3 separate regions of the Homo sapiens genome follow, and regions 2 and 3 are each linked to region 1. Evidence: promoter capture Hi-C in 16 types of primary human blood cells and fetal thymus (Javierre and others, 2016). All regions are on one chromosome and are shown on one strand. Each heading gives the region's core, a stretch centred on a gene start or on the middle of the fragment in contact. The rest is flanking DNA. Distances are from core to core; before and after follow the strand shown. Region 1 holds the start of MTDH (metadherin). Region 2 overlaps VIRMA (vir like m6A methyltransferase associated). Region 3 holds the start of PABPC1 (poly(A) binding protein cytoplasmic 1).

Evidence for each region. Contacts are between HindIII fragments. The CHiCAGO score rates a contact against its expected background, and 5 or more counts as called.
Region 2: a contact is called between a fragment that was not itself captured here and the fragment with the promoter of MTDH in region 1, in 2 of 17 cell types (total B cells and naive CD8 T cells). The highest score is 9.7, in total B cells.
Region 3: a contact is called between the fragment with the promoter of PABPC1 here and the fragment with the promoter of MTDH in region 1, in 1 of 17 cell types (total B cells). The highest score is 5.5, in total B cells.

Annotation. Positions count from the first base shown.
Region 1 is chr8:97,642,139-97,645,793 of GRCh38, forward strand. MTDH (metadherin) reads left to right here and starts at 2,046. Exons shown (of 12, transcript NM_178812.4): 1 at 2,046-2,749. The coding sequence starts at 2,369. RefSeq lists silencers at 1,634-1,743, 1,924-2,383, 2,654-2,723, 3,007-3,175 and enhancers at 1,896-2,876, 2,877-3,655. The HindIII fragment of the contact is 3,502 bases long and covers 1,261-3,655 here.
Region 2 is chr8:94,548,491-94,552,145 of GRCh38, forward strand. The region is part of intron 1 of VIRMA (vir like m6A methyltransferase associated); the gene reads right to left. Among named protein-coding and RNA genes, the nearest start is that of VIRMA, 3.2 kb to the right of the region's middle. The HindIII fragment of the contact is 4,218 bases long and covers 1-3,655 here.
Region 3 is chr8:100,720,492-100,724,146 of GRCh38, forward strand. It overlaps PABPC1 (poly(A) binding protein cytoplasmic 1), which reads right to left and starts at 1,597. Exons shown (of 15, transcript NM_002568.4): 1 at 900-1,597. The coding sequence starts at 1,092. RefSeq lists silencers at 774-883, 1,564-1,643, 1,724-2,433 and enhancers at 836-1,668, 1,723-2,223, 2,224-2,724. The HindIII fragment of the contact is 6,173 bases long and covers 1-3,655 here.

The DNA of each region.
Region 1 (3,655 bases), core at 796-3,295:
CATATGGCACCACTTCAATTTAAAGGTTTTTTTGTTTTGTTTTGAGACAGAATCTCCTTCTGTCACCCAGGCTGGAGTGCAGTAGCACGATCTCAGCTCACTGCAGCCTCCACCTTCTGGGTTCAAGTTATTTTCATGCCTCAGCCACCTGAGTAGCTGGGATTACAGGCGTGAGCCACAGCACCAGCCATTATTGTAATAGTTTAATTTGAAAATTCACAGGTGGGCCGGGAGCGGTGGCTCACGCCTGTAATCCCAGCACTTTGGGAGGCCCATGCGCGCGGATCACGAAGTCAGGGCGACTGCAGCCTCGGCAACACAGCGAGACTCCATCTCAAAAAATAAAAAATAAAAAATTCACAGATGTTTATCTAGAATGGTCAGAATAGTCAGTGGAACTTCTTAGGAAAATCATGACCCTTCACATCTCTAGAACCAAAACACGTGCAGAAATCTTATTTCACAAATATAAATGGAATTTGGAAACTTTGAGTTAAAGCAGATCCCAATAACATTTGCTAAGTTTTTGGCCTCCTAATTTAATTTAGTCTTTAATCATAAGTCTTGGCAAGTGTAGTATGCTTTTATTATTTATTATTTACAAAACTCCCTTCCACACATGAATCACAATATGCATTACGACACTGTTGCAAAATAGGTCAAAATACATTTTTGGTATTTGGTGGTTATTAATATTACCCCTGCTGTATTCCTTGAGAAAGCCTGTATTTAGTTCACTTAAGACAGTTGCTTACACGCTAATGATCATTTACCGATAAAATACAGAGTTTCCTTATAGCAAAATATAATCTTAAAACCCTAAGGCAGCCTTCAAGCATTTCCCTTATAATTAAAACCTGAAGGCCTGGCGTGGTGGCTCACGCCTGTAATCCCAGCACTTTGGGAGGCTGAGGTGGGCGGATCACGAGGTCAGGAGATCAAGACCATCCTGGCTAACACGGTGAAACCCCGTCTCTACTAAAAATACAAAAAATTAGCCGGGCGTGGTGGTGGGTGCCTATAGTCCCAGCTGCTCGGGAGGCTGAGGCAGGAGAATGGCTTGAACCCAGGAGGCGGACCTTGCAGTGAGCGGAGATAGTGCCACTGCACTCCAGCCCGGGCGACAGAGCGAGACTCTTGTCTCAAAAAAAAAAAATTTGAAAAGGCAGTTCGTTTCCTTCTATAGCTGCATCCCAGAGATGGTCAACATAGCATATAAAAATGGAATTTTTGCAAACCCCTTTTGCAGTGTTGTAGAAAAGCTTAAAATAAAACGTAACGAGAAAGCTCCCTCCATAAGTAAATACAATCTAATGTGCTTCCCCTTATGTGTTATTAAAGCTACAAATTAGTAGGAAAAGAATAGTGCCGCCCACGGGCTTTCCAACTTTTGAATTCTGGGGACTAACAACAGAGAGCAAGAGTGAATGAGCCAAACGACGCAAACGTGCCCTCGCCAGGCTGGCAACTGGTAGGCACGCAGTGTATTAGTTGCCCTGGAGAGAAACACCCTGGAGAGAAATACCCAATTTGTGAACTAAACCTAGGTCCCGGAAGAACAGTGTTCGGCGTCAGACTCCGTTGAGCTCATTCTGGAAGGATCCAACTGGCGCCACCAGGGAGAAAAAGCGATTCCACCTCAATAACACTCCAGAAAAAGGCATGAAGAGCCCTATACCTGCCAGGGCGACTTTGACCTAGACCCGGTGACCCGGTTCCTAGCGCTGCAGCCCTACCCGCCCCCCGCCCGCCCCCGCCTTGCACGGAGCCCCTCCTCTGTACTCATTCGTTGCGCCACGTCTCCTAACTCTGCGCCACCAGCCACCCCGCGAAGGCGTCCACCAATTAACCCCTCCCAGCTTCTGGTCTACAGTAACGGGTCCCCAACGCCGCGTCTTAACCAGGCCCGAACCGACCACCGCCAACCTTCCCTGACACGCCTTTGCCCCACCCGACCCCGCCCGCCCCCACGTGACGCCCACGCCCCGCCCACTGGCGCCCACGTGACCCACGGTCGTCCCCGCGCGCGGCGTGGATCGCGGCCCAAGCCGCCATTGTTCCGCCGAGGGAGGACAGCGGGGCCTGGCGCTGGCGCCGAGACGCCGCTTAGCGGCCGCCACTGGAGACACTCCCTCCCGCCTCCCGGGTCTCCTGGCGGCGGCGGAGTGAGGCTGACAGCGGGGAACCTGGGAGACCCCTCCGCCCTCCCCGCGGTGGCAGCGGCCGATCCCCGGCTCCGGCGCGAGGGACGGCCGCGATGCGCTCGGCCTGAGGTTACCCGGCCCGGCCCTTCCTCGCTTCCCTCGACTATTCCACTGCGTCTCCGCGCCCCGGCGTCATCCTGCGAGTCCCTCTGACGGGAGGGAAGATGGCTGCACGGAGCTGGCAGGACGAGCTGGCCCAGCAGGCCGAGGAGGGCTCGGCCCGGCTGCGGGAAATGCTCTCGGTCGGCCTAGGCTTTCTGCGCACCGAGCTGGGCCTCGACCTGGGGCTGGAGCCGAAACGGTACCCCGGCTGGGTGATCCTGGTGGGCACTGGCGCGCTCGGGCTGCTGCTGCTGTTTCTGCTGGGCTACGGCTGGGCCGCGGCTTGCGCCGGCGCCCGCAAAAAGCGGAGGAGCCCGCCCCGCAAGCGGGAGGAGGCGGCGGCCGTGCCGGCCGCGGCCCCCGACGACCTGGCCTTGCTGAAGAATCTCCGGAGCGAGGAACAGAAGAAGAAGAACCGGAAGAAACTGTCCGAGAAGCCCAAAGTGAGTATGGGATGAGCGGCAGTAGAGAACGGGCGAAGGGCGGGCGTGGAGACCCTCGAGCTTGGGGGAGGCCGCGCCCCAGCCGGGAAGGAAAAGAGTGCTTAGTCGAAAGCCGAGAGGCAGCACTCCCAAGTGGAGGAGGAGGTGATAGGTGGTCATGTTATTTGGGGAATGGGGGGAACTCAGGAAGTATAGGACGAGTGGGGAAGCCCAGTTTCGAGGAAGGAAGTTAGGAGGTCTGGGGGTCCGTTCAGATAGGCGCCCAGAGGTCAAGCCATCTTTGGGAACCGTCACCGCTAGAATAAGCACAGCATCCTTCCTTGAGGCCTGCAGAGTAGGCTGCATGTGGAGCGTAATGGGACCTTAAGGTGGTGTTAGGAAGTTGTATAAAGACTGCGCTCGGAAGACAGATGTCTATCTCAAGTCACATTGAGACAGTAGGCAGTGGAAGAAGTGCGGTGACCTAGAAATTCTGGGGCTTACACAGGATTAAAGGTGTCCAGGTCTAGACGCGCTTCCATTTTAGTTGGGACTGTTAAAGGGAAATGGTTGCCCATTCTTGTTCTGGCAAATGTGGCCAACAGAGGCCGGAACGGGAGCAAGGCAAGAGGGGGTCGGTTACCTAATACGCTTTGAGGTGTATGGTCCTGTGAGAAAGAGCTAAGGCGAGTTCAACGAACGAGTCTGTTGCACACTCTGTGGCGTGGTAGATTTGTGAAATAGAGTAAAGGGAGATGACAGGGCAGAATGGTGAAAGCCGAGAGAGGAATTCAGGCACCGATTTACTGGGCCACGTGTGGAAGTTGCAGAGGGCATCACGTCTGTCTTAGGCCTTCATGTTTTACGTTTACATTCTTTATTGCCATTCCCATGGTTCTCCCATTATATCTTTCATAGTTTTATGTA
Region 2 (3,655 bases), core at 609-3,108, 3.1 Mb before region 1:
AAATTAATTCACTCATCAACAGGAATATACAAATACAATAGCTTTCCACTCATATACTTGTTTACCAAATAACCTTGCTTAAATCTGATTTTAACTTAAACAACTTTTTCTAATATTGTATATGTTAACATTAGAGATATAGTGTGCTTTTTTATATTTTTTTATTATTTATTTATTTATTTTGAGACAGAGTCTCGCTCTGTCGCCCAGGCTGGAGTGCAGTGGCACGATCTAGCCTCACTGCAAGTCCCACCTCCCAGGTTCACGCCATTCTCCTACCTCAGCCTCCTGAGTAGCTGGGACTACAGGCGCATACCATCACGCCTGGCTAATTTTTTTTGTATTTTTAGTAGAGACAGGGTTTCACCAGGTTAGCCAGGATGGTCTCAATCTCCTGACCTCGTGATCCCCCTGCCTCAGCCTCCCAAAGTGCTGGTATTACAGGCATGAGCCACCGCGTTTGCTATGTTGCCCAGGCTGTCCTCCCAACTCCTGGGCTCAAGTGATCCTCCCACTTCAGCCTCCCAGGCTGGGGCTACAGGCACACATGCCACCACACCTGGCTTATCTTGCATTCTTGATTTGTAATGTTAAGTGTTTTTTCATTCACGGGAACACTATTCCCTCACAATCAAATTGTCTTTTAATAAGTTTAACTGCTTATCTTCTGAACTCAGTGGATTGGCCTTATAAATGTGTATCAATTGTTTATGTGGAGAAGAGGAAATTATTGGTAAAACAAATACAATACCAAAAAAAGAGCTGTTAATGGCAGCTGGCAATAAAGATTCCCTGTGTGAAACTAATAAATGTCTCTTCTCTACCATATTACAAATTCCTTTGAAATCAAGGGCAATGGGCTTTGTTCTGACTTGTATTGCCCCTCCTAAAGCCATACCCTCACCTTCAAAAGTGTTTTTCATAAATAATTGTTAAACAGATTCTCAACTTCCTATGGGGCAAATTAATCTGGCTAATTATCCCGTTCCCATCAAACTCACTTCCACACTCTTACCATCATTAGTCCCACTAGTTCTCCTGTCTCTAAAACTAGAATTTTACCATTTTTAACTACCCTATCTCCTTCACATAATCAGTTGCCATCCTGTCAATTCTATACTCGAAATTTGTACATATCCAAAACTTGTATAAATCCTCTCCTACGTAGTTCCACTGGGACACAGCATAGCACTGCCTTAGAGCCAGAAAAATGTATGATGGTGGATCTTAATCTAGCTATGCTATTTTAGGAAAGTCACCTCATCTCTCAGGCTCAGTTTCCTTATCTATAAAATGTAGATGACTACCTTTGAAAACTCAGCGTGGGCCCTGCAGTGGCTCACGCCTGTAATCTTCGCACTTTGGGAGGCTGAGGTGGGAGAATCGCTTGAGCTCAGGAATTCAAGACCAGCCTGGGAAACATGGCAAAACACCGTCTCTACAAAAAAATATGAAAATCAGCCAGGCGTGTTGGTGCACAACTGTAGTCCCAGCTACTCGGGAGGCTGAGATGGAAGGATCGATTGAGCCCTGGTGGGAGAAATTGCAGTGAGCTGTGATCGCACCAGTGCACTCCAGCTTGGGTGACAGAGCAAGACCTAGTCTTAAAAAAAAAAAAAAAAACTGATGGAAGGACCAGAGATGATTTACTTAAGTTATCAAAGCCCACTGTGTCTGGCACAAATTAAGCATTCAATAAATGTTAAACAATGCTTACTGCCCATTGGCTAACTCAGGTTTTCATAACATCTCACTTTTTCTCTCTGATTTTGTCACCTCACCTCTATTTTCTCTGAACCATTTTTTTTTTTTTTCTTTTTGAGACGGAGTCTCGCTCTGTCACCCAGGCTGGAGTGCAGTGGCACAATCTCGGCTCACTGCAAGCTCTGCCTCCCGGGTTCACGCCATTCTCCGGCCTCAGCCTCCTGAGTAGCTGGGACTACAGGCACCTGCCACCACGCTCGGCTATTTGTTTGTATTTTTAGTAGAGACAGGGTTTCACCATGTTAGCCAGGATGGTCTCGATCTCCTGACCTCGTGATCCGCTTGCCTCGGCCTCCCAAAGTGCTGGGATTACAGGCATGAGCCACGGCGCCTGGCCTTCTCTGAACCATTTTAAGTATTATTGATCAAGTAATCTATCTAATGTATCTTACTAATTGTATGATTCGCCTGCTCAAAAACTACCCATTTCCTACAAAATAAAGTCCATAATTTTTATTTATTTATGTATTTATTTATTTTAAAAGACAGAGTCTTGCTCTGTCGCACAGGCTGGAGTGCAGTGGCGTGATCTTGGCTCACAGCAACCTCCTCCTCCCGGGTGCTAGCAATTCTCCTGCCTCAGCCTTCCGAGTAGCTGGGACTATAGACGCACACCGCCACGCCCAGCTAATTTTTTGTATTTTAGTAGAGACGGGGTTTCACTGTGTTACCCAGGCTGGTGTCGAACTCCTGACGTCAGGCAATCCACCCACCTCAGCCTCACCAAAGTGCCGGGATTACAGGCGTGAGCCACTGCGCCTGGCCTAAAGTCTGTAATTCTTTGTCGAGCATTCAAGGAGCTCCATGATCTGTCTTTGAATTGCCTTGGGTGCCACTTCACACTGCTACTTCAAGCATACCCTAACAGACGACTGACTACCCCAGTAGAATGCCCTCCTTTCCTAACTACAACTGTGAAATATTGCCCCTTTCACCAAAGACCAAGTTCATAAGCCAAACACCTTGATGAAGTCTTTCCTGATACACTCAAATGAAAAGTTATCTCTGCCTCTTCTGAAATCTTGTATCTTTTATTTATACCCACAAAGGGAGCTAGTTCTAATACGTCAGATACTGATGGGCATTTTGTAAACTAAGATGATAAACCCCAACGAATTCACACTGTGCTTCTTTATGTGATCATCACATTCTAACTCAAATCACAATTTTGTGAATCTAATCTCCAATACTGAGTTATAACTTCTTGAAAACAAACATTTCAATATTTCGTATCACCCACAAACCCCTACTTCCTCCTTCAAGACTTGATTTAAATGTGATCTCTGCTAAGCCTTCCCCAATCACCCCAGAAGAAAGCATTTACCATCTGCCCTATGCTCTCAAGGTATTCAATGTTTACCTAAGAATGAATAAAAGAATAGAAATACATGATAAACTAATGAAGGCCAATTTTCCTAAACTAGAATAGTACTAAACTAATTCATCACATGCCTCTTTCTCTTTTTCCTTTTTCTCTTTCTTCCTTTCGAGACAGGGTCTCACTCTGTTGCTCAGGCTGGAGCACAGTGGTGTGATCTTAGCTCACTGCAGCCTTGAACTCCCAGGATCAAATGATCCTTCCACTTCAGCCTCCCGAGTAGCTGGGGCAACAAGATCAAACCACCACAACTAGTTAATTTTCTTTTGTAGAGACAGGGGTTGCACTGTGTTGCCTAGGATGGTCTCAAACTCCTGGACTCAAGCAATCCTTCTGCTTCCGCCTCCCAAAACGTTGAGATTACAGGCATGAGCCACTGCGCCAGGCTCTTTCAGTTTTAACTGTTCTCTATTTCTATACACCATAAGTTTGTTCTGATCCAACTACTGCCTCCATTGAGGGTTTTCTAAATCTCGGCTAGAATGTTAGATATAGTCATTGAACAAACAGTGC
Region 3 (3,655 bases), core at 347-2,846, 3.1 Mb after region 1:
AACATTTTATAGCCAAAGTTGACTATTTTATAAAGAAAAGCCCCTCAAAACGACAGGAACTATTTCAGAAGGTAACATAATATACTCGAAAACCACCAGTACTGTGAATCTAAGATAAAATTTGACTAAAAATGGTCTAAGTTGCCTGAGAAAACTGGCCTTCAAAGTGGTCGGCTGCCACATCCCCTCCTCCCACTCTGCCCTTTTAATGTTAGAGAAATGCTTGATCTAGGGGAAACCCCAAATGCATGTCTCCGGTAAATTCCATTCCTAGATCCATCAGTCACTGATGAGTTCTGGGAAGTGGACTCACAAGCCTGAGGACCACCACCACACCACACATCGCCACAGGAACTTTATCCTAAGGCCTGGTGGCTCCCCCAGGCGACTGGGCCAGGAGCAGGAGCAGAAGCAGGCCTCGGGCCTGCGAGGTTACAGGGTTCAACACGTGGTATTTTTCGAGCACAGAACTGCACTTCCTCCCCAGGCTGGGGCGCCGGCAGGAGCTCCGGGTGGTGGGAGCGCCTCCACCTCTTACCCACGGAAGGAGCTCAGCGTTCAACGCCCCAGAATCCCGGGGCCACTGGCGGGAGCGCCGCGGAGGAACCGAATCTCACCCACCCTCCCGGCGCGTCATCACCCTAAAGTTTGAGAGCGTCTGAGGCCGAGAAAATGGTCGCAAAGGAGGAAGTAGCCGGGCGTGTGGCTGCCGGCAGCGCGGGTCCCCGCCGGCTCGGGAAACGCGGCTCCAGGGACCCCGGCGCCTTCCCGCCGGCCGTCGCGGGGTGACATGCCCTCCCGCCCCCCTCCCCGGGCCCGCCGGCCTACCCCGCCCGCCGCCGCCGCCCGAGCCTCATGGCCGCCCGCCCGCCCGGCCGACCGCGGAGCCCGGCGCTCACCGTCCGCCGGCTGCTGGAAGTTCACATACGCGTAGCCCAAGGAGCGGCGGGTGATCATGTCCCTGCAGACCCGGATGGAGAGGATGGGCCCGGCCGGGCTGAACTTCTCGTAGAGCATCGCCTCGGTCACGTCGGGGTGGAGGTCCCCCACGTAGAGCGAGGCCATGGGGTAGCTGGGGGCACTGGGGTTCATCTCGGCACGGCTGCCCGCAGGGCCACAGGCCGCGACCTTTCCGTGAGAGGAGGAGAGCGAGTGCCGGGGCTGGGGGCCGGAGCCGGGGGGAGGGGAGCGGGGAGCAAGCGCAGAGGGACAAAAATCAACCGGAATTGAAAACTACTCAACGGCCGCAGAACGGGGTCGATCCACTGCCGCTGGCTGCCGGCTGCCGGCGGGGAGCGAGGGTGGCGGTGTCGGGTCCGGGCAGCGGGAAGGCCTCGGTCTCTTGGTTCCTTCTTGGAGCTGCTGCGGGGCCGCGGGCGGGCGGGTCGGTCTCGGCTGCTTCACCGGGTTATTTTATAAAAGAGGAAGAAAAAAAATAAAAGTCTCCGGCGGGGGAGACGCGGATTTTTTGTAAATTTTTTTGGGGTTTTTTAAAAGATTTTTTTAGATTTTTTTTGGATTTTTTAATAATAAATGTGTGTTCCGAGCCCGGAGCACACACTCCGCACTCTCAGCACTAACCGCCGGGGAGAAGGGGAAGCACCGCCTCCTGCACCCTCTACTTATACCCCGCGCCGCACTCGCCCCGCCCCCGCGCGTCTGACGCCAGGGCCCCTACGCGAGCGTCAGCGCCGGAGTAGGAGGAGACGCGGAGGCCAGGGGGAGGAGGGAAGAGAAAACAGGAGGAAAGAGCAGAGAGGAAGGGAGAGGTGGCGGCGGTGGAGGCTGCGGTGTGGGGGTGGGGCTCGGGCGAAGGGGCGGGGCTTTTGCGCAGGCGCCGCGGCCGGGGAAGCGGAGCCCGCGCTGCGTCGCGTCCGTGGGGGTGGGGAGGACGGCTCGCGGGCGGTCCTCGGGGGTGTTGGCTGAGGCGTCCCCGCCTTCCGCCCCGCCCGCCCCTGCCTCCACCAGGAGGAGCGTTAACCCGTCACCGCGGCGGTGGGCGGTGCAAAGGGCTTCCGGGTTCCTCCGCGCTAACCACCCCCCACGTGCGCGGCCGCCTGTGGCCTCTTCCCGCTGCGGCCGGCCCGGCTCCTCTAGCCCCAGCTCCGGGGGACGCCGGGCACGGGTGAGCGGGCGTGGTCCCCTCCGGGCCCGGTTTCCGAAACGTGCGTAGATGGAGCCAGCGTGGCCCCCTGCTCTCTCCTACCCGGACCGCACTACGAGTCCCAGCCGGCACCGCCGCCACGCGCGTCGGCCGCAGAAGCGGTGCCTGCTGGGAGCTGGAGTCCCCAACGGCCGCGGCGCTCGCTGACACCAACTGGCTGCGCGGGTCCTGGCCGCCCGCTCCGGGACCCCCCAACCGTCCTGCGCGCTGGACCCCGGCACCGCTGGAGCTCCCGGCGCGGGGTTGGGGGGCAGGGAGAGAGAGGGGAGGGCCCCTCGGGTTCCTCGTCCTCTTCTTTTCCAGCCCGACCCTCCTCCGTGTCTTCACTGGACGTTGTCGTTGGTCAAAGTGGCTTTAATTTGGGATAGCTGTGTTGGGGGTCTTTGGTCACTTCTTACCTTAAGGTGCTAGGCTGGAATCATTGATTTGTGCTGCTTCTGCCAGACATTTCTTGGCGATAGAAACCAGGAGTGGAGAAAAGTGAATGTTTTTCCTGAAAGTACGGGTTTGTCACAATCACTACTATATGGCACCACAGCCCTGCAACCAGACAAAATTAGGAATAGTCTAAAACAACGTCCTTATAAATAACTAAAACAATTCTGCACATTAGTAGTGGGTTTTAATAGGAATGCTAAATTTAACGAATTGATAGTAATAAAAACCGGCTCTAGGAATGACATTAAATCAACATACAAATTCCACTCGAAAGTAGTAAAGTGCTTTTACAGTTTTTAAAGCACTCGCGTAAACATACTATCATTTGTTCCTGAGAGCAATCTGGTGTGGGAGGTGGAGCAAGTAGTAATAATTTTACTTTACTGTTACAGGAACAGTCTCAAAGAAGTTAAATGATTGCCCAATTTATTCCTTAATTCAATAAACTTTAATGGATGTCAACTGTATTGCTAGGTGTGGAATTAAGTACTTTATATCTTGTCTCATTTAATTAGAATTTAAACCAGTGGAATCCCACATAAATACTATTTTGCTCCTATTAAAAAGAGGATAAAATGTGACCGGGCGCGGTGGCTCACTCCTGTAATTCCAGCACTTTGGGAGGCTGACGCACGCTGATCACTTGAGGTCAGGAGTTCGAGACCAGCCTGGCCAACATGGTGAAACCCCGTCTCTACTAAAAATACAAAAAGTAGCCAGGCGCGGTGGCTCACGCCTGTAATCCCAGCACTTTGAGAAGCCAAGGGGGGCAGATCACGAGGTCAAGAGATCGAGACCATCCTGGCCAACATGGTGAAACCCCGTCTCTACTAAAAATACAAAAATTAGCTGGGCGTGGTGGCGCGCGCCTATAGTCCCAGCTACTCGGGAGCCTGAGGCAGGAGAATCGCTTGAACCCGGGAGGCGGAGGTTGCAGTGAGCCAGGATTGCGTCACTGCACTCCAGCCTGGTGACAGAACGAGACTCAAATAAATAAAAAATAAACAGTTGTTAGGCTTCCAGGGCAGCTTGACAGGCAGTGATGCCCTGGAT